Linked DNA regions of Homo sapiens: all the other regions are linked to region 1. Evidence: promoter capture Hi-C in human tissues and cell types (Jung and others, 2019). All regions are on one chromosome and are shown on one strand. The core of a region is centred on a gene start or on the middle of the fragment in contact, and the rest is flanking DNA. Distances in the headings are between cores, read along the strand shown. Region 1 holds the start of UBA52 (ubiquitin A-52 residue ribosomal protein fusion product 1). Region 2 has its middle 25 kb from the start of HOMER3. Region 3 holds the start of SLC25A42 (solute carrier family 25 member 42). Region 4 holds the start of RAB3A (RAB3A, member RAS oncogene family).

Region 1 (5,427 bases), core at 7-2,506:
TGGCCTGTAGTCTAAACATGTCCTGGAACTAAAGACCACATGTCCTCCACCCTCCTGACCGCACGGGTGCTCTTCAGGAACACAGACTGTGGTTATTCTCCTTAGGTTTAGCGGCGGAAGGACTCGTCAGTATCTCCTGATGGAATAAGTACCCTTTGGCATCATCTTGCTAGATCCATCTTCCCTGAAGGCGGTCCCACCCTCTTCCACGGCAGCCAGGTCCTGATCTGCACAGGCTGCTCCTGCTGCCAGCCTGGATGGGAAGCCATCCCCTACAACACACATGCCTTCCTGTCGCAGCCTCTCTCCTCTCTAACTCCAAGCTGGAGCACCCAACACTCTTAGCTTCCTTCTCAATTACACCAAAACTCTCCAGACCCCACTTCTTGCCTTGACCCCAAACCACGAACATCACTTAGTATCTACCAACCACCTGCCAAGCATTGTTCACATATAAAAGTTGACTTAAAAAGACAAAGAATCGACCGGGCGCAGGGGCTCATGCCTGTAATCCCAGCACTTTGGAAGGCCGAGGCAGACGGATCATTTGAGGTCAAGAGTTCAAGATGAGCCTGGCTAACATGGTGAAACTCCGTCTCTACTAAAACTACAAAAATCAACTGGGCGTGGTGGCAGGCGCCTATAATCCCAGCTACTCGGGAGGCTGAGGCAGAAGAATCGCTCGAGCCCGGGAGGTGGAGATTGCAGTGAGCCGAGACCGCACCACTGAACTCCAGCTTAGGCGACAGAGCAAGACTCCATCTGAAAAAAATACAAATAGTCTAAAGAAAAGTCTAAAAAGCAGACACTACCACCAGCTCCTCCTTACAGACGTAGTAATGGAGCCAGGTATGAAGACTCAGCTCGAGAAATTTAGTATTTCCAAAGCGACTGACGCAGTGACTGGCAGAGTTAACGCTACACGCTCAATACCCCTCTCTCATTAACTCGGATCTGCCCCGAGGACCTCTTCCCGCCCGAGGCCTCGTGGGGTCACGCTGGCAGGCAGAGCAGGCAGGCTCCTCTCCAAAACGGCGCTCGCCTCCTGGGCCCCGGTCTGGGCTCCGAGCCGTGGCCTCGCGAGCCCTGCCCAGCCACCCTGCCGAGACTGGCCCGCATGAGCCAGCTCAGGGCCGCCTCTTCTGCCGCCCAGGCCCCTGCAGCCTCCCGCAGCCCCCAACCCGCTCTCGGCCCGGCGCGAACCCGCACGACCGCCGCCACCAACCAGCTCGGCCGCCTCGCTGAAGAAAAAGAAGATAGCGGAACCGGAAACCACCTAATCGCCGCCGAAAGCGCTTGCGCACGGAGCACGCCGGACGCCTGCGTCACAATTCGCGCCGCGCCTTGGGCCCCGCCCTGCCGCCATCTTGGATGCTGGCGAACGAAGCCGCAGCGCACGTGGGTGAAGGTCGCCCACCCGCTTCCGGTTGTGGGCCCCGCCCGCCGAGTCACTTGAGACGATTGCACCTCTCCCCGTGTTTGCGTCCGCTGCCTCTAGGCCACTGACAACCGCTGGCGGTTGGCGGGCCCTCAGCGAATAGCTGAACGGAGTAGAGGAGAATGTTTTCTAATAAAGCAAAGGTATTAAGCAGAGGACTGCGGGTCCAGGACGCAGGAGTCGGGGCTGGGAAAGCACCTAACACCTGGAATCGGTTATTATAAAGCTCTCGGCCGCTGTGCCTGAATGGATTTCAGGACAGCAGCAGGGAGAGCAGACGGTACTACCGCATTCGCCCAGAAAGGTGGTGGTGCCTGACAAAAGGTGTCAAGCGGGACTCAGGATTTTTTTTTTTTTTTTTTTTGAGACGGAGTTTCGCTCTCGTTGCCCAGGCTGTAGTGCAATGGCGCGATCTCGGCTCACCGCAACCTCCGCCTCCTGGGTTCAAGCAATTCTCCTGCCTCAGCCTCCCGAGTAGCTGCGATTACAAGTGTGCGACACCATGCCTGGCCACTTTTGTATTTTTAGTAGAGACGGGGTTTCTCCATGTTGGTCAGGCTGGTCTCAAACTCGCGACCTCAGGTGATCCGCCCGCCTTGGCCTCCCAAAGTGCTGGGATTACAGACGTGAGCCACTGCAGTGTCTCTTTTCAGTGTAGGATCCAGATTTGTGGGTGGTTAAAAAGTGCCAGGGCGGGACCTGGGTCCGGTGACTCACGCCTGCACTTTGGGAGGCCGAGATGTGCGGATCACCTGAGGTCGGGAGTTCGAGACGAGCCTGACCAACATGGAGAAACCGCATCTCTACTAAAAATACAAAATTAGCTGGGCGTGGTGGCGCATGCCTGTAATCCCAGCTACTCAGGAGGCTGAGGCAGGAGAATCGCTTGAACCCGGGAGGCAGAGGTTGCAATTAGCCGAGAGAGTGCCATTGCACTACAGCCTGGGCAACAAGAGCAAAACTCCGTCTCAAAAAAGAAAAAAAAAATTACAAAAATTTTTCAGGTGTGGTGGCGGGTGCCTGTAATCCCAGCTACTCAGGAGGCTGAGGCAGGAGAATCGCTTGAATCCGGGAGGTGGAGGTTGCAGTGAGCTGAGTTCACGCCACTGCACCCAGCCTGGGTGACAGAGTGAGACTCCATCTCAAAAAAAAAAAAAAAAAAAAAAAGTGCCACGGCGGGTGCAGTGGTTCACACTTGTAATCCCAGCACTTTGGAAGGTCAAAGAGGGAGGATTACTTGAGGTCAGGAATTCACGACCAGCCTGGAAGACATAGTGAGACCCTGTCTCTACAAAAAAAAGTTTTATTTTGAACTATCCAGGTGTGGTGGTGCGCACCTGCAGTCCCAGCTACTTCGGAGGCAGGAGGATTGCCTGAACCCATAGGTTTGAGATTGCAGTGACCCATGATTCAGCCACTGCACTCCAGCCTGGGCAACAGAGAGGTGCTGTCTCAAAAACAAAACAAAAAAAAAAAGTGCTGAGTACAGAGAAGATGGGGAGCAATGAGAAGTTACCTATAGGCTTAACAGGGGTACCTGTTTATTTCCTTGAACATTTGCAGGCACTACTATACCAGGCAAAAGCAGACACTCTCACGTCTGGGAAGATGCCTTTAAGAACCTAATTTCCTTTTCTTTTTTGAGACAACAGTTTTGGTCTTTTTGCCCAGGCTAGAGTGCAGTGGTGCGATCTTGGCTCACTGCAACCTCTGCCTCCTGGATTCAAGCAATTCTGCCTCAGCCTCCCAAGTAGCTGGGATTACAGGTGTACACCACCACACCCAGCTAATTTTTATATTTTTGGTAGAGATGGGGTTTCACCATGTTGGCCAGGCTGGTCTCGAACTCCTGACCTCAGGTGATCCACCCACCTCGGCCTCCCAAAGTGCTGGGATTACAGGCATGAGCCACCAAGCCCGGTCATAACAACATAATTTCTAAGTACTCAGAAGATGAGGTAACCCTGGGAGTGTGTCTGATGGGGAATGGATCTAGTGTGGCTCCCCTATCTGGAGGAAGGCTGAGATCTGGAGAAGGAATTATGAAATGAGGATGGGAACACTAGTATTGTGAGCAGTGACAGCAGCGTGAGGGAAGACCTAGCTGGTGACGGGAACTTGGGTTGTTATAGCTCCCACCAGGGGGGGTTCCAAAAAAGGGCCACATCTCTTTCTAGCCCTGTAGTGCCTGATTGTCTGCACCTCCCTCCAGCAGGGCCCCCAGCCCCACATCCAGCACTTGCCCTCCTTTTGGGTTGCTTGGCTTAAGGACTGAAGAAGCCACAGCTAGGTGTACTTTTCCCTTTTTAGTAATGGTGTCTTTTTATTGATAACTTCCCAACAGCATCTGTAAACATCGGGTACAAAAATATTCCATTAAACTCTTTCCCGAGGTGGCTCCGTTTGCTCCATGGAGGCCTTCAGAGAGGCCTGCTGGCCCCTCAGGTTCCACACCTCTATTCAGAGAAACACAGAACTCAGCACGCTCAGGGCTGAATGGATGGCCAGCCTCCGTCTCAAGACTTCTACCTATCTCAGAAACCTCCTTGAGATACCAAGGAGAAAGTATTTGATACTTTTACGGAGCAAGGGGCAGGAAAAGCAGAATTAGTGGGTGCGGGGGTGGGCTGGGGTGAACTCAGAGGAGACCGTGCTTGTGCACCTCAAGGAGGTCCTGACCGGTGGTGGGGGACATCTGGCTCTGGTGTCTGGGAACCTTCTAAGCATTCTTCAGAGCAGACGTCAGGCTCAGCTCTGGAAAAATTCCCCTGTGCCCAGCCCCACGACTCCAGCTGGAATGGGCGTGCCCTGGCATGGCAGAGGGGTCTTGCAGAATAGAGATGTTCTGAGGAAGGAAGGAGCCAGAATTAAAGACCCCCCCAGGAATTCCACACCCCTCGGGAGAGAGCCTTGTCCCCCTAGGAGCCCTGGGTGACAGAACGGGGCAGCAAAGGAGCCCTGGATGACAGAACAAGGCAGGGTTACCCGCTGCCACCTTGTATGCTGCTGCCCTGAGACCCCCTCAAGGCACCGGGCAGCAGGGCTATTCGCCCGTCATCTCCTCGTCATCTGTCTGGCTGCGGCCGTTGATGGCTGGGGAGCCAGGCTGGACATGGGACAGGTCCTCGAAGCCGGGGCTCAGGGAGGGCGAGACGGTGTCGGGGCTGGTGTCACATGAGCCCGTGCTCTGTTCTGAGGTGGCAATGGTGGTCGTGGTGCTGGGTGGGATGGGGTCTTCATCCTCTTCCTCCAGGAAGGATGCCTCTGGGATATCTGGGGGAAGGAGGCCCAAGAGTTGGTTTTGTCACCTTGCCAAGCTCTGTGATGTAGGACTTATTGTCCATGTGACCCCTAACGGCTGCCCTCACCCCATGGGGGTATGACTTGACCCTTTTTTTTTTTTTTTTTTGAGACGGAGTTTCGCTCTTTGCCCAGGCTAGAGTGCAATGGTATAATCTCGGCTCACTGCAACCTCCGTCTCCCGGGTTCAAGCGATTCTTCTGCCTTAACCTCCTGAGTAGCTGAGACTACAGATGCCCATCATCACGCCCATCTAATTTTGTATTTTTACTAGAGACGGGGTTTCTCTATGTTGGTCAGGCTGGTATCGAACTCCCGACCTCAGGTGATCCACCCGCCTCAGCCTCCCAAAGTGTTGGGATTACAGGCATGAGCCACCGCGCCTGGCAGACTTGGCCCATTTTTATTTTGTAGAGGAGAAAACTGAGGCCCAGGCAGGGAAGAGCCCTCCCTTCAAGGTGAGGTGAGGAAGGGACACAAGATCTGGGGTTAGGCCTACAGGAGCCCTGAGGGCGAACCTGGCTCACTGCACTACCTGGGCTAGGTATATGACCTCCCCTCAGCCCAGCTCCCTGCTCTGTAAACTGCTGTTGGAGGCCCTGGGATGGAGAGCTGTCGGCCTTTTCAACAGATGGTGTGAACCCAGGCTCAGCCTGCAGAGCCCTTTAAGGTGGTGGCAACATGGAATG
Region 2 (5,269 bases), core at 847-3,346, 400 kb before region 1:
CTGTGGTTCACACCTGTAACCCCAGCACTTTGGGAGGCCAAGGTGGGTGGATCACTTGAGGTCAGGAGTTAGAGACTAGCCTGGCCAACATGGTAAAACCCCGTCTCTACCAAAAATACAAAAAAATAGTCAAGCATGGTGGTACACACCAGCTACTTGGGAGGCTGAGGCAGGAGAATTGCTTGAACCTGGGAGGCAGAGGTTGCAGTGAGCTGAGATTGCACCACTGCACTCCAGCCTGGGGGAACGAACAAAACTCTGTCTCAAAAAAAAAAAAAAAAAAAATATATATATATATATATATATGACAGATGAGGTCTGCATATGTTGCCCAGGCTGGTCTAGAACTCCTGGCCTCAAGTGATCCTCCTGCCTCATCCTCCCATAGCACTGGAATTCTAGGCATGAACCCCCACACCTCCAATGATAGTTACTTTTTGCGAAGTGTTCAGGCAGGGCTGCTGGGACCCAGTACCACAGCAGCTCTATGAGTTGGAAACCATGGCCCAGAAGAGACTCAGAGTGAGAAAGGGCTTTCCCCAAAGGTGAATTTTTGTGTGTAGGGTGTGAGGTAGGGATCAAGGTTTATTTTGTGCCACACAGATACCCAGTTACTCCAGAAGAGTTTATTAAAAAGCCTGGGACTGGGCACAGTGGCTCACACTTTGGGAGGCCACGGCAGGCGGATCACAAGGTCAGGAGTTCGAGACCAGCCTGATCAACACGGTGAAACCCCATCTCTACTAAAAATACAAAAATTAGCCAGGTGTAGTGGTAGGTGCCTTTAATCCCAGCTACCCAGGAGGCTGAGGCTGGAGAATCACTTGAACTCAGGAGGTGGAGGGTGCGAAGACCCGAGATCCTGCCACTGCACTCCTGCCTGGTGACAGAGCAAGACTCTGTCTTAAAAAATAATAATAATAAATAAAATAAAATAAAAATAAAAATAAAAAGCCCATCCTTGCCCAAGCTCACAGAGGTAACCAGAGATGAAGCAGGGATTCCAACCTGCATTCCTCTGAGTCAACCTGGAACATTCTCCAAGTCTCCAGAGAGCCTGTCGTCATGGCCAGCTGAGCATGCTTTGCCCTGTCAGCAAAATGCAGTATTTGAAAAGTCACGAGCGTTTCAAAAGGAAGCAGAGTGAGGCGGCCTGGGTCAGCTCCAAGGTGCTTCCTTCCTGCAGGGATGGTGCAATATCCCCAACTGTCTACTGCCCGTTGTGACTTCACCTTCTTATACATTTATTTTTTATTTTTATTTTTTTATTTTCCTGCCTTATTCCAAGAGAGAAGGCTGCGTGTGCATTTCCGTCGGGGAGGTATTTGCCGAGGGGAAGTTCACAGTCATACCCATATCCAGAACCTTTGTGCATTGGGAGATGTTCCAGAGGAACTGCTCTGCCCTCCGGCCTGGTGGGGCAAACACCTGCTTACCCCAAAGCATCAGGATTGCAGGGGGCACAGCCAGGCTCCCAGGCCACTCTCAGAGCTGCCCAGTGCTCCCTAAGCCTCCCCAAATCAGAGAGAGAGTCCTCAAGCACTCAGAAAAATCTAGGAACCTCCCTAGGCTCCTCCTTCTGCCAACTTCTCATAGCCCTCCCAACCCAGGCAGCAGAACGTCTCTCCCTGGAGCCTGTTCCTGCTGACTGTTTTGTTTGTTTGTTTTTTGAGACAGAGTCTCTCTCTGTCACCCAGGCTGACTGGAGTGCAGTGGAACAATCTTGGCTCACTGCAACCTTTGCCTCCCAGGTTCAAGTGATTCTCCTTTCAAGTGATTCTCCTGTCTCACCCTCCCTAGTAGCTGGGATTACAGGCGTGTGCCACCACTCCCGGCTAATTTTTGTATTTTTAGTAGAAACGGAGTTTCACCATGTTGGCCAGGCTGGTCTCAAACTCCTGACCTCAGGTGATCCACCCACCTCAGCCTCTCAAAGTGCTGGGATTACAGACATGAGCCACCGTGCCCAGCTTTTTTTTTTTTTTTTTTTTTTTGAGTTGGAGTCTCGCCCTGTCACCCAGGCTGGAGTGCAGTGGTGCGATCTCAGTTTACTGCAACCTCCACCTCCTGGGTTCAAGTGATTCTCCTGCCTCAGCCTCCCAAGTAGCTGGGACTACAGGCACCTGACACCATGCCTGGCTAATTTTTGTGTTTTTAGTAGAGACAGGGTTTCACCATATTGGCCAGGCTGATCTCGAACTCCTGACCTCAGGTGATCTGCCCGCCACAGCCTCCCAAAGTGCTGGGATTACAGGCGTGAGCCACCATGCCTAGCCCCTGCTTATTGTTTGTTTGTTTTATAGAAATGGTGTCTCAATAAGTTGCCCAGGCCGGCCTCAAACTCCTGGCTTCAAGTGTTCCCTCCCACTGGAGTAGTGTTGTTGTCTGGGGTAAATACCCAAGATTTGTTGTCTCACAGGCCCGGAAAACTAGGACTCAGACATACAAAGAGTGAGGTTCAGAGTGGAAGTTTAATCGGTGAAAGAAAGAGAAGCGCTCTCTCTGCTGCAGAGAGAGGGATCTTGAACGGGTTTCCACTTCCTCAGTAAAAAGCAGTGAGTTTTATGGATGAGCTTAAGGAGGTGGTGTCTGATTTCCATAGGGCACAAAAGATTGGTTGGACCAGGTGTTTCATTTGCATAGGGTGTAAAAACCTGGTTAAGGCTATGTGTGTAATTTGCATAGGGTGTGAAAAGCTGGCCTTCCCATCCTAATCTTTTTTTTCTTTCTTTTCTTTCTTTTTTTTTTTTTTTTTTTGAGTCTCCCAGGTGGAGTGCAATGGTGCGATCTCAGCTCACTGCAACCTCTGCCTCCCTGGTTCAAGCAATTCTCCTGCCTCAACCTCCTGAGTAGCTGGGATTACAGGTGCCTGCAACCATGCCCGGCTAATTTTTTTAGTAGAGATGGGGTTTCACTATGTTGGCCAGGCTGGTCTCTTGGCCAGGCTGGTCTCAAACTCTGACCTCATGATCTGCTGCCTCATCCTCCCAAAGTGCTGTGATTACAGGCATGAACCACTGCGCCTGGCTTCTTAATCTTTTATTATGCAGATGAGTTCTCTAGCTGGCTGGCGCCATGTTGCCTGTTCATTTTTTTTTGTCGCCCAGGTTGGAGTGCAGTGGCTCGATCTTGGCTTACTGCAACCTCTACCTCCTGGGTTCCCGCGATTCTCCTGCCTCAGCTTCCTGAGTAGCTGAGATTATAGGCGCCCACCACCATGCCTGGCTAATTTTTGTATTTTTAGTAGAGACGGGGTTTCGCCATGTTGGCCAGGCTGGTCTCGAACTCCTGACCTCAGGTGATCCACCTGCCTCAGCCTCCCAAAGTGCTGGGATTTCAGGCATGAGCCACCGTGCCCAGCCAAACTAAAACCTGTTTCTTTACTGTACACGTAGTGACCAAAAAAAAGGGAAGCTGGAGCCCCCATGTTGAACATGCCAGGCCCTCAGGTGGCCCTTTTCCATTGACACAGCTGCTGGTATTCACCCCTGGAAGCTTCCCACTTGCTTATCCATGTCTGCAGCTCGATTTTTCAGGCTGTTTTTTGTTAGAAAAGAAATGAGTTGGCCGGGCGCTGTGGCTCACTCCTGTAATCCCAGCACTTTGGGAGGCCAAGGTGGGCAGATCACGAGGTCAAGAGATCGAGACCATCCTGGCCAACATGGTGAAACTCTGTCTCTGCTAAAAATACAAAAAATTAGCCGGGTGTGGTGGCAGGCACCTGTAATCCCAGCTGCTCGGGAGGCTGAGGCAGGAGAATCGCTTGAAGCCGGGAGGCGGAGGTTGCGGTGAGCCAAGCTCGCGCCGTTGCAATCCAGCCTGGGCAAAAAGAGCTAAACTCTGTCTCAAAAAAAAAAGAAAAAAAGAAAAGAAAAAAGAAATGAGTTGCGGCTGGGCACGGTGGCTCACGCCTGTAATCCCAAAACTTTGGGAGGCCGAGGTGGGTGAATCACAAGGTCAGGAGTTGAAGACCAGCCTGGCCAACATAGTGAAACCCCATCTCTACTAAAAATACCAAAATTAGCTGGGCATGGTGGCACATGCCTGTAATCCTAGCTACTTGGGAGGCTGAGGCAGGAGAGTAGCGTGAACCTGGGAGGCAGAGGTATCAGTGAGCCGAGATTGCACCACTCCACTCCAGCCTGGGCGACAGAGTGAGACTCCATCTCGTAAAAGAAGGCCGGGCACAGTGTCTCACGCCTGTAATCCCAGCACTTTGGGAGGCCGAGGTGGGTGGATCGCCTGAAGTCAGTAGTTTGAGACCAGCCTGGCCAACATGGTGAAACCCCGTCTCTACTAAAAATACAAAAATTAGCCGGGCATGGTGGCACACGCCTGTAATCCCAGCTACTCGGGAGGCTGAGACAGAATTGCTTGAACCAGGGAGGCAGAGGTTGCAGTGAGCCAAGATCGTGCCACTGCACTACAGCCTGGGTGACAAGAACGAAACTCCGTCTCAAAAAATAAAAATTAAAAAAAGAAAGAAATGATTTGGGGGGCTGCTTTTTGTTAAAAGAGAAATTCCCAGGACTCTTTTACCCTCACTGTCTGCCAAAATAATTTCTATCTCCTGTATCACGACCACAACCTCCCAAAGTGCTGGGATTATAGGTATGAGCCACAGCACCTGGCCCCAGCTCATTGTTTTGTTTTGGTTTTTTTCATTTTTTAAAACTCATGATCATTGTTCAATGCATTATTATTATTATTATTATTTTGTTGTTGTTGTTGTTGTTGTTTGTTGTTTTGGTGTTGTTTTTTGTTTTTTGAGACGGAGTCTCGCTCTTATCGCCCAGGCTGAAGTGCAATGGCGTGATGTCATCTCACTGCAACCTCTGCCTCCCGGGTTCAAACGATTCTCCTGCCTCAGCCTCCCCAGTAGATGGGGTTACAGGCACCCGCCACCACGCCTGGCTAATTTTTGTATTTTCAGTAGAGACTGGGTTTCACCATGTTTGCCAGGCTGGTGTTGAACTCCTGACCTCATGATCCGCCCACCTCAACCTCCCAAAGTTCTGGGATTACAGTCGTGAGCCACCAGGCCTGGCCTATTATTATTATTTTGAGACAGGTTCTCACTCTGTCTCCCAGGCTGGAGTGCAGTTGCAGTGGCACAATCACAGCTCACTGTAACCTCAAACTCCTGGGCTCAAGTGATCCTCCTACCTCAGCTTCACGCATAGCTGGGACTACAGGCACGTACCAATGTGCCTAGTTAATTTTTTATTTTTTGTAGAGACAGAGTCTTGCTATATTGCCCAGGTTCATC
Region 3 (5,413 bases), core at 2,420-4,919, 490 kb before region 1:
AATCTCAGCACCACCACTGCTCCCTGCTATAGGGACAAGCTTCACAGAGCAGGAACTCAAAAAAAATTTTTTTTAACAGAAAAACAGGGTCTTGCTCTGTTGCCCAGGCTGGAGTGCAATGGTGCAATCATAGCTCACTGCAGCATTGAACTCCTGGGCTCAAGCAGTTCTCCACCTTAGCCTCCCAACTAGCTGAGACTATTTACGCACGCCACCACGCCCGGCTAATTTTAAAATTTTTTTTATAGAGATAGGGTTTCACCATGTTGCCCGAGCTGGTCTGAAACTCCTGGGCTCAAGCAATACACCTGCCTCATCCACCCAAAGTGTTGGGTGGTGTGAACCACTGCATCCAGCCCCAAATATTTCTTGAACTTTAGTCTGACTGGCAGAGAAACAAGTCTAATGTTTAATCCCTACCCCACAAGCCAGAACACCTAAGACAGGGGTAGGAAGCATGGAAGTGATGTTCAAAAGGATCTCTTGTGCTGTTTTTTACCTATCAGATGGGACAGACCACAAAACTTGATAGTAAGATAACTGAGCTGGCCACAGGAGAGGAATCAGGCTTTCCAACTTCACAGTTGAGAGGAGGAGGAGGAATATGCCCTTTTACTTGGCCCTTTTTTTTTTTTTTTTTTGAGACAGGGTCTAGCTCTGTCGTCCAGGCTGGAGAGGAGTGCAGTGGCATGATTATAGCTCACTGCAGCCTTGAACTCCTTGGTTCAAGCAATCCTCCCACCTCAGCCTCCTGAGTAACTGTGGACTACAGGCATGGCCAGCAAGACAGGGGGGTCTGAAGTGTCTGAGCACGGCTGGAGCCCAAATACGTTCAATGTGTATTTAGTACATGCTGATGCATGCATCTATCCATTGCAGCTCTGTTTGTAAAAGCTAAATATGGGCTGCAGTGGCTGGGCGCAGTGGCTCACGCCTGTAATCCCAGCACTTTGGGAGACCGAGGCAGGCTGATCACAAGGTCAGGAGATCGAGACCATCCTGGCTAACACAGTGAAACCCCGTCTCTACTAAAAAAATATGAAAAAATTAGCCGGGTGTAGTGGTGGGTGCCTGTAGTCCCAGCTACTCAGGAGGCTGAGGCAGGAGAATGGCTTGAACTTGGGAGGCGGAGCTTGCAGTGAGCCGAGATCGCGCCACTGCACTCCAGCCTGGGCGACAGAGCAAGAATCCAACTCAAAAAAAAAAAAAGAAAGAAAAAAAAAATATGGGCTGCAGCTTAAACAGCCATCAGTAAGGGACTGGCCTTAGAATGCATATGTCTGCTCAATGCAAATTTACCAGTGGTTTAAAAGGGGTGGGGGATATATACCTCCCCCGACCCCTTTCTGCCACCCCAGTCATAGACTACCTCTGGAAGAAAACATAAGAAATTATCAACAGCAGGTGCATCTGAGGAGGAACGGGGTACAGGCTGGGGAAGACCTGACTGATTTCTACTATGTGACCTTTTGTACTGTTTGATTTTTTCTTTTTAACTATATAATAGGCCGGGTGTGGTGGCTCACGCCTGTAATCCCAGCATCTTGGGAGGCTGAGGCGAGCAGATCACTTGGGGTCAGGAGTGCGAGACCAGCCTAGCCAACATGGTGAAACCCCGTTTCTATTAAAAATACAAAAATTAGCTGGGTGTGGTGGCACATGCCTGTAATCCCAGCTACTCAGGAGGCTGAGGTAGGAGAACTGCATGAACCCAGGAGGCAGAGGTTGCCGTGAGCCGAGATCACACCACTGCACTCCAGCCTGGGCAACAGAGCAAGACTCCGTCTCAAAAAAAACCCAAAAACTATATACTCAATGATCTTGCCAAAGTTTATACACATGTACATATATAACACACACGAAATATGTATATATAAAATATGTATATAAACATATGAATATTATAGGTACATGTACATATGTGTACAACACACACACATATACATACATATATACATACATGCCCATATATGTTTTAAATGACTCCTATTGAAGTTGGACAGAAAACCCAAATGGCTTCAGTTTCCACAGGAGAAGCTGAAGGTGACATGACCCTCTGAAACATTCTGGTACCGTCTTTGCAGGGAGCGGTGGGAGGGGGTAAGAAACGCTCCAGGAGCCTTACAGGAAATGGCACGTTATTGCTTTTCAACAACAAAGCCACTGTCCTCCTTCTATGCTGCATGCTTGCAAATCAGACTCAAGGGAACTAAAAAATTCCAGAAGAATCATTCCTAGCACCACCCAGGCTCGTTTTGCAGGTTAGCTTTAAACAGCTGAAACATTAGTTTGCCTCACTCTAAAGAGTGTTTCCTTACTCTTTATCGGCTTCAAGGGCCCAGGGAGTGTCGGAGAGGGGTCCCGGGTCTGCAAGAGCTGGGAGCCCCGGCCCCGGCAACCCCCTCTCCGGCATCCTGCAGGAGGCACCCAAGATGATGAGCCCCCCTCCTCCGGCAGCGTCTCCACCGCCAGCCTGCCCCAGGACTCCGAGACACACGCTTGGCAGAGGGGCCGTCCCTTCCAGCTAAGCCTTTCCGGACCCAGTCAAAGTCACGACTCCTGCCAATCCCTCTGAGATAAACATAACAGATGGGCCCAAACGCGGTGGGTCCACAGCAGAGGGTCAGCGATGCCCAGGGTAGAATAGGCTCTGCCTCTAGCATTCAAGTGGTTTAGGTCTGTGGCTGGTAAAATGGAGATGATTCCGGTTTGGTCTGACAGATGGGATTATTCTAAGGTCCGGAAATCACTTTATAGACTGTCAAGCACTGTTAGAAATGAACACTGGGGTAAGCTTTTGTTTGGGGAGGGGAGGGTGCAGCGATCCTGAGATACCAAGGCTTGGGGGACTATTGGAGGACCTGGGGGATTCGGGGGGATTATTACAGAGGGTGTGCGAACACAGGTGCACGTGGAAGAAAGCCCAAGGTGGGAGAGAGAAAAGGGGGAGACAGAGGTGTGGGGCTGCCAGGGCAGAGGGCAGGTGCCAGGGGGAAGGTCCCTGAGAAGAGAGACACAGGTTGCTGGGGGAGTGGGCACGAGAGTAGCGAGCAGATACCTGGATATGAGGAAAGGCAGTGGGGGACGGGACTAGGTCCAGGTGTGAGTTGCGAGGCCATGAGTTAGGAGTCACAGGCTCAGGTGTGGGTGTGGGGGTGTCATCGACAAGGACAGACTCAGGTGATGTGGGGGGTGTTCGTGAGTGGGGGCGGGTGTTCGTGAGTGGGGGCGCGGTGTCAGGTGTGTGAGGGGGATGTCAGACCCAGCTGTGCGGGGCGCCGGGGACAAGGCCCCAGGGGTGTGGGAGATGTCAGCAAGGACAGTCTAAAGTGTATGGGGGATGTCAACGAAAAGGGACGTGGTGTCAGGCGTGCGTGGACTGCGGGTGACGGGCTCAAACCTGGATGCAGTAGCCCCCAGGGGGCAGTAGACGTGGAGTGTGGGGTTGGGGGGGGTCTTTAACCTCTTCCTGCCCTCGCGACGCTACTGTCATGCCCCGCCTCATCCGCCCCTCGCCCCGGGATCCATGACAGGACCCGTGCCTCACCTCAGTTCAGCCCGACAGGCGCGGGCCGCTGACGCTTGGGCCCCCCCGGCGCCCCCCGCGCCCCCTCACCGGCCCGGACGCGTCGCCGCCGCCGCTACCTCCAGCCGCCACGGCCCCGCCTCGCGCACCCCCAGAGCGCGCCACGGGAGGGGTCCACGCCACGCCCCGATTGGCTGCTCCCTGGCCAGTCAGCGCTGGAAGCGACAGTGATTGGCGAGTATGAAGCAGATGGGCAGCCCCTAAAGCCAATCGCTGATTGGCAGAGGTGGGGCTATTGGGAGAGGCCTGGGGTGCCTGAGTGGTCCCTCAGGGTGCTAGGCGCTGGGAGGCGAGGGCCTGGAGGCAGGCGAGGATTGGAATCTTGGCAGAAAACAGGCAGAACTGTCGGCCAATCGCTGGGGGCCAGGGGCGGGGCTACGAAGAAACTGGCGCTACCGGTGGGGCAGAGGCGAGAGGAACGGAGGGCGTAGCTTGGGGGGAGACCGGGATTGGCCGCAAAGCCGAAGACTGGCAGGCCCCGCGGCCAGTCGCAGCGGCCGTGGGCGGTACGCCCCCAGGGGAGGGCTGGAGCGTTCAAGGTGCAGTCCGACCCGGAGCGCGGCAACCCGACGTGGCCTCGGACGCCTGGCGCAGGGTCCCCTGAGGCTCTCGTGTAGAGCCCGCCCTCTGGCCACCTAGCACAGAAGCGGATGTGAACTTGGACCATCAAGGCTGAAGGACTCCTGGATAATTCTCTATCCCCTTACTCCCCACTAATCCCCTGCAGACGACACGGAGAGGGCAGATTCGCTGGAGGTCACTCTGAACTGCCCTCTCCATCTCGAGGTGGTGTGAAGACATGGAAATAAGGGGCGGAATCCTACTGAAACGCGCTGCGTGGTTTTCTGAGTGTCTGACCTCTCTGCGTCCCAGCTTTCCCCGCCACGGTATCCAGTGACATCCCTGTTGGGCCTTCTCCCTGCCAAGTCTTTTTTTGAATTAACTGAATCTTAACCACAATCCCATGAGGTCAGAGAGACCACTGGCTCCTTTTACAGAAACCAGAGCACAGAGAGGTCAAGCTCCTTGCCCAAGGTTACACAGCATTCTCTGGTTGCTAAACCAGAGAATGAATCTAGAGCAGCCTGCTTTTTGGAAAGAGTGTGTCAGAGAAGAGCCACTGGGGGCCTCAGAGACCTGGGTTTGAATCCTTGTCCAATCACTGGCCCACCACACAACCTTGGGCAAAAGCCCTTGTGAGCCTCAGCTGTTTCATTTGGAAAAGAGGGGGGAAAATGATTCCTATGCCTTGATCTTTCCTCTCTGGGGTTGCTTCCCTGGGAAAATTTACAACTCAGCTCTCATTTTAATTATCTGGTGAAAGCATTTGACCCTGAGCAGGTCATGTGCGGCCTGTGAGCCTCAGCTCCTCTGTGAAGTGCAGAAAAATGCCGGCAGTTTAGGGAGACACCTGCCATCCCAGGCATGGCTGTGTCATCGGCACCTCCCCCGAAGCCACTCTGTTCTATGACTCACCCTTCATCTTCAGGATGGAGAGGGCTACAAATGTTTCCAGATACCAGCTCTTATTTCCTCTAGGTGCTGGCCAGGGTTGGTGGAGATCAAGTTCAGAACCAGGGAATCCTGGGAGGGAGCAAGGCTGAAACCAACCTTAGAAAGGGCTCACATTTCAGGGCTGCACAAGCCCCTGCTAAGTGTGTGATCCACAAGTTTCAAATGGGGAGGATGTGACGGGAAATCACTAGCCCAAGGCCATCATCAAACTCCTGATATTCTCACGATATGCCTACCTGGACCTCCTCTCCCATACCTCCCACCTGTGGTTTGCTTCCTGGCAACTTCCAGGATCTGGCCTCCATTCTGCCC
Region 4 (5,450 bases), core at 881-3,380, 370 kb after region 1:
TGCTGCTCTGGACAATCAAGGGCTTGCATTCTTTTTAAATTTAAATTAAGTAATTAATTTTTTGAGACAGCGTCTCACTCTGTCGTCCAGGCTGGAGTGTAGTGGCGCGATACGGTTTCCTACAGCCTCGACCTCCTGAGCTCAAGTGATCCTCCTACTTCAGCCTCGGGAGTATTTGGGTCCACAAGCACGCGACACCACATCCAGCTAATTTTTAAATTTTTTGTAGAGATGGGGCCTCCCTATGTTACTCAGGCTGGTTTCCAATTCCTGGGCTCAAGCGATCCTCCCGCCTTGGTCTCCCAAAGTGGTGGGATTACAGGCGTAAGCCTCCGCACCCGGCTATTTTTACTTTAAAATACTAAGTCAGTGACGGAAGCTTCCGCACATTCTCGTGGCTCACTTTTCTCTTCCTGGGGAAAAAAGGCAGGAGGTATTTCCGAGAGAGCCACCCATGTAGGAAGCGTGCCTTTGGGCGATCAGGGAGCTGAGCAACCGAAAAACCTCCCCTCCAAGGAGGCGGCAGGCCAGGGCCTGGACCAGCTGCCCTGGAGCCCCCCACAGAGCACGGACTACCGCGTGGGCGCGGAGGGCAGGGAGAATGGGAGGTGGATTTCTTTTTATTTTTTGTTTTTCTGAATTTTCCCAATTTCTCTGCAGTGGATTGGTGATACTTCTATAGTCCGAGTGGGGGAGGAGGGAGCAAACATGTTACCCTAAAAAGAAAAAATAAATTTCCCAAATGTAAACGGTGCGGGGACGTGGGGGTGGGCGTCCCAGTACTCCCAGGGCACTGGGGGCGGGCTGGGGACTGGGTTGGCGGCGGCTGGGCCTCGAGGCGCTAAGTTATTCTGGTCTCTCGGCGCCTCCGCAGCTGGCGAGCTTTTTATAAACAGGACGAGTCACCCCCCGCCACACACACACGCTCCAGCCCCGCCTACTGGGAGGGGTGGGGGGAGAATCTAGGGGATCAGGACTCTCCTGGGGGCCACACACCCCTGGAGGGTTTGAAAGCTGGAGTAGGGGGAGCAGGAGACCCAAAGTGGGGGCTGGGGTTTCGGGCTCCTCCTCCCTCCCCAAATTCTGACTTCCTTCCCTAAAGATTTGGAGGAATAAAAGATGGACCATCTTAGCTCCCAAAAGGCTCCATCCTCTGAGTTTTGCTTTCCCAGGATGGAGGGAGGGGGTCTCCCAGCCCCCGGGTCTTTGAATCCGAGCTTTGAAGAGCTGGAGGCTTCGGCTCGTGCCCTCCCTGTTTCCCGGGGCATTTACCGCAGGCTTTAAGGGGTTTCCGGGACAGGTCGCTTCTCTGTCCCTGCTAAACCTTTTCTTCGAATTTTCTTCTTGATGACGGGGCGCAGGGAGGGGAGGGGGTTCCCAGAGAGTCCATCAGCCCCTTCCTCCTTTTCTGGGAATGGTGGGGAGGGGAGGCTCTCTTGACCTCTACTTCTTTCTTTTCAAACCTCAGAAACGGGGGAGGGGTGGAGTCTTTACTAGCCCCTCCCTCAGTGGGGGGGTCTTACGCCTCGGGAATGGGACAGGGGTCCCTCTTGACTCCTGTTTATTCTTTGGTATTTATTTTGAACCCCATATATGTGAGGGTATAAAACATCTCTTGGGCCTCGATTTTTCTTTTCTGCAATTGGGAGTCAGGGGCATTTAACAGGGGTCACAGCACCTTGGACTAGACGGTGGCCTCAAGAGTCCCCTACCTGGGGTGGGTGCGGGCGGGTAAGGGAACCGCCCCTCGAAGACCGGGGCTCAGCCAAGGCCTCAGCCTCTCGGCCCTTCAATCTCCCAGATGCCACCATTGGACAAGAGGAGGGCGTAGACAATCTCTGATTGGCTACTTCGCCCGTCGCTCGAGAGCTTAAGCCAGTGAGAGAACGCTGAGGGGCCCCGCCTCCCCGAGGCGGACAGGAGGCGGACGAGAGGCGGAGTCGGCCCCCGCGCCGCTCCCGCCCCTACTGGATGCACACGCTAGGCCCCGCCCCATTTGCACGTCAATCTGCTCAGGAGCCCTGCCCCATCTGGCTCTGCGTGCGTCAATGGGCCACATCTCTACGCGCGGCTCCGCCTCCGGATGGCGTCACGGACTTATCTACATGTGAGGCTCCGCCCCTCCCTTTGCAGGACGTCACGGAGGACTGCAGGGGCCTGAGCCGCTGCTGCCGCCGCCGCCGCGCAGCCCCACATCAACGCACCGGGGTCCTGTCACCGCCACCGCCAAAAAAGTCACCGCCGCTAGGGTCGCCGTTGCATCGGTGCAGGGCAAGGTGAGCTCCTGGGCGGCCGGGTGTGCTCAGGCTCCGAGCACCTGCATAACCTTCATTTGACTGATGGGCTGATGGAGGTGGGGGACGAGGTTGACTAGGGTTGAATGGGGGGAAGGATGCGGCGGTCGCGAGGCTGGGAATGGGTAGGGCCCGGGCGCCCCACTCCTGCCTGATCCTCACCACTAACCCCCCCAACCCCCCTGCTCTGCGGCGGAGGGGGAGGGGAGCCGAGCTCCTTGCGGGAAGCTGTGCGCGCGGGAGGCTTTTGCGTGCGCGTGCGCGTGGTGTGCACACGCGTGTGCGCGCCTGCCTGTGTCAGCGGGTCTGTGTGCACCCTTGCTTGTGTACCTGGATATGCTCGTGTGACGCCGTGGGGGTCTGGGCCTAAGTGTGTGAGCGTTGCACGCGCGTGGAGAAAGACGTGTGGACCGCCTGTGCAGGTATGGCCCGTGCATACAAGCACGGGGATCCGTGTCCGTGTGGGTGATGTGCACACGCCTGCATGGGTGGAGGGGCCTGTGCGCACGGGTGGTTTGCACATTTCTATAGGCGAGTCGGTGTGCAAACAGGTGTCTGTGTCTTTGTCCTGTGCACCTCAGTGCGTTCACACACTCCTGTATGTACGGATGAGCGTGTTTGAGGCTGTGTGCACGTGAGCGTGTGCATGCCCCTCCTGTATCATGTGATGCAGCGGCCTTGGCCGGAGCTCTCCGGCCTGGAGGTTTGCGGGGAGCGGGGGCTGCAGATGCGCGTCCTCGAGGGACCATGCACGCGGTGCACGTGGGGCCGCGCGGCCGGGTTCTGAGGACCATGAAAGATTGATGGGGGGCGGAGCCAGCCGCAGTCACCCCCTCCGGGCTCAGCCCTGGGTTTAGGGTTACAGCCCCACCTGGGGCACCTGCCCCTTGAAGGGGGCTGCTGGGGTGTCCCCATCGGCAACCCTCTGAGCCCCTCCTCTGAAACGCCCAGGATTTCAAGGTCACAGGCTGCCCTCTGCTGGGGGCACCACCAATTAATACTGGGGCTCCTGATGGGATAAGGGTGTCCTCCATACACCGGCCGTTTTCTGGAGCCCTTGCCATCTTCTGCCTGGGCTTGGGCACATGAGGATGGAGAGAGCCCCCCTCACGGCTCTGCTACACCCGGTATCCCCAGATGGCATCCGCCACAGACTCGCGCTATGGGCAGAAGGAGTCCTCGGATCAGAACTTCGACTACATGTTCAAGATTCTCATCATCGGCAACAGCAGCGTGGGCAAGACGTCCTTCCTCTTCCGCTATGCTGACGACTCGTTCACGCCTGCCTTCGTCAGCACCGTGGGCATCGACTTCAAGGTCAAGACCATCTATCGCAACGACAAGAGGATCAAGCTGCAGATCTGGGTGGGTCCCAGCTGGAGGGCTCCCGCCCGGCTCGGTTGGATTCCCGTACTTGGAAAAGCAGCCCCAACCTCGTCTATCTCTTTCCTGACTGGAGTCATTCACTTACACACTGGGCATTTATCAGTAAGGTGCCCACTGTGTACCGGGGCAGAAACAGCACCTGTGTTCTCCCATAAGCACCTAATCCTGGTCCCTCAGTTTCCCCATCTTCAAGTTCTTCCATGTATGAGGTTTCAGCTGGATCTTGGTCCCCATTCTCTTTTTTTGTTTGTTTTTTGAGACAGGGTGGTCTTGCTCTGTCCCCTAGGCTGGAATGCAGTTACGTGATCACGGCTCTCTGCAGCCTCGACTTCCCAGGCTCAAACCATTCTTCCACCTGAGCCTCCTGAGTAGCTAGGACCACGGGCTTCTACCACCACGCCTGCTGATTTTTTTCTTTTTTGTAGAGACAGGGTCGGGCTATGTCTGCCCAGGCTGGTCTTGAACTCCTGGGCTCAAGCGATCCTCCCACCTCAGCCTCTCAAAGTGCTAAGATTACAGGCATGAGCCACCCCACCTGGCCTTGTTAGTTTTAAGAGACAGAGTCTCACTCTGTTGCCCAGGCTGGATTTGAACTCGTGGGCTCAAGCAATCCTCCCGCCTCAGCTTCCCAAGTAGCTGGGAGTACAGGCAAGTGTCAGCTTCCTTTAATTTTTAAACCTACAGTTAAATTCTCTCCATCTTCATCTGGCTTGATTTTTCTCCTTGGTCCTTGTCACTCTCCAATATAGGATACATTTATACCGTTATTTTCTATTTCCCACACTGAGTGTCACTTAGCAAGGGAAGTGCCCATCTTGTTAACAACTGTGTCCCCAGTGTCCAGTTCAGGGTGTGGAAAAGATCAGTGCCCAGTCCATGTTTGTTTATTTGTTTGTTTGTTTTTTGAGACAGAGTTTTTGCTCTGTCACCCAGGCTGGAGTGCAGTAGTGCAATCTTGGCTCACTGAAACCTCTGCCTCCCGGGTTCAAGCGATTCTCCTGCCTCAGCCTCCTGAGTAGCTGGGATTACAGGGGCTCACCACCAAGCCCAGCTAATTTTTTTTTGTATTTTTAGTAGAGATAGGGTTTCGCCATGTTGGCCAGGCTAGTCTTGAACTCCTGACCACAAGTGATCCACCTGTCTTGGCCTCCCAAGGTGCTGGGATTACAAGCATGAGCCACCACGCCTGGCCTCTGTTTTCTTTCTTTCTTTCTTTCTTTCTTTCTTTTTTTTTTTTTTTTTGTTGTTATTGTTTTGAGACGGAGTCTCGCTCTTGTCACCCAGGGTGGAGTGCAATGGCGCGATCTCGGCTCACTGCAACCTCTGTCTCCTGAGTTCAAGCGATTCTCCTGCCTCAGCCTCCTGAGTAGCTGGGATTACAGGTGCATGCCACCACGCCGAGCTAATTTTTGTATTTTTAGTAGAGACAGAGTTTCACCATGTTGGCCAGGCTGGTCTCGAACTCCTGACCTCAGGTGATCCACCTGCCTTGGCCTCCCAAAGTGCTGGGATTACAGGCGTGAGCCACCACCACACCCGACCCCCTGTTTGTTTTTTGAGACAGGGTTTCACTCTGTCACCCAGGCTGAACTGCAGTGGCGCGATCTCACCTCACTGCAACCTCTGCCTCCTGGGCTCAAGCAACCCTCTCACCTGAGCCTCCTGAGTAGTTGGGACTACAGGTGTGAGCCACCACACCCTGTTAATTTTTGTACTTTTTGTAGAGATGGGGTCTTGCTATGTTGCTCAGGCTGGTCTGGAACTCCTGGG

Evidence for each region. The method cuts DNA at HindIII sites, captures the fragments that hold promoters and counts their contacts. A contact is called where the count stands out against the background at its distance.
Region 2: a contact is called between a fragment that was not itself captured here and the fragment with the promoter of UBA52 in region 1, in 1 of the 25 tissues and cell types used here (spleen).
Region 3: the fragment with the promoter of SLC25A42 here is called in contact with the fragment with the promoter of UBA52 in region 1 in 2 of the 25 tissues and cell types used here (lymphoblastoid cells and spleen).
Region 4: the fragment with the promoter of RAB3A here is called in contact with the fragment with the promoter of UBA52 in region 1 in 1 of the 25 tissues and cell types used here (dorsolateral prefrontal cortex).

What each region holds. Positions count from the first base shown.
Region 1 is chr19:18,567,686-18,573,112 of GRCh38, reverse strand. It overlaps UBA52 (ubiquitin A-52 residue ribosomal protein fusion product 1), which reads right to left and starts at 1,256. Exons shown (of 5, transcript NM_001033930.3): 1 at 1,204-1,256. KXD1 (KxDL motif containing 1) reads right to left here. Exons shown (of 5, transcript NM_024069.4): 5 at 3,735-4,711. The coding sequence ends at 4,482. RefSeq lists enhancers at 1-567, 1,206-1,545, 1,756-1,875, 1,246-1,922. The HindIII fragment of the contact is 7,230 bases long and covers 1-3,467 here.
Region 2 is chr19:18,963,803-18,969,071 of GRCh38, reverse strand. No RefSeq gene overlaps it. Among named protein-coding and RNA genes, the nearest start is that of HOMER3, 25 kb to the right of the region's middle. The HindIII fragment of the contact is 8,790 bases long and covers 1-5,269 here.
Region 3 is chr19:19,062,250-19,067,662 of GRCh38, reverse strand. SLC25A42 (solute carrier family 25 member 42) reads right to left here and starts at 3,669. Exons shown (of 8, transcript NM_178526.5): 1 at 3,548-3,669. LOC124904655 (a long non-coding RNA gene) reads left to right here and starts at 4,138. Exons shown (of 3, transcript XR_007067160.1): 1 at 4,138-4,473. RefSeq lists silencers at 3,498-3,767, 4,028-4,197. The HindIII fragment of the contact is 11,421 bases long and covers 1,418-5,413 here.
Region 4 is chr19:18,200,722-18,206,171 of GRCh38, reverse strand. RAB3A (RAB3A, member RAS oncogene family) reads left to right here and starts at 2,130. Exons shown (of 5, transcript NM_002866.5): 1 at 2,130-2,276; 2 at 3,432-3,659. The coding sequence starts at 3,432. LOC102725254 (a long non-coding RNA gene) reads right to left here and starts at 1,442. Exons shown (of 2, transcript NR_134910.1): 1 at 1,273-1,442; 2 at 609-716. RefSeq lists silencers at 779-838, 1,724-2,113 and enhancers at 1,494-1,593, 1,779-2,073, 2,106-2,888. The HindIII fragment of the contact is 10,728 bases long and covers 1-5,450 here.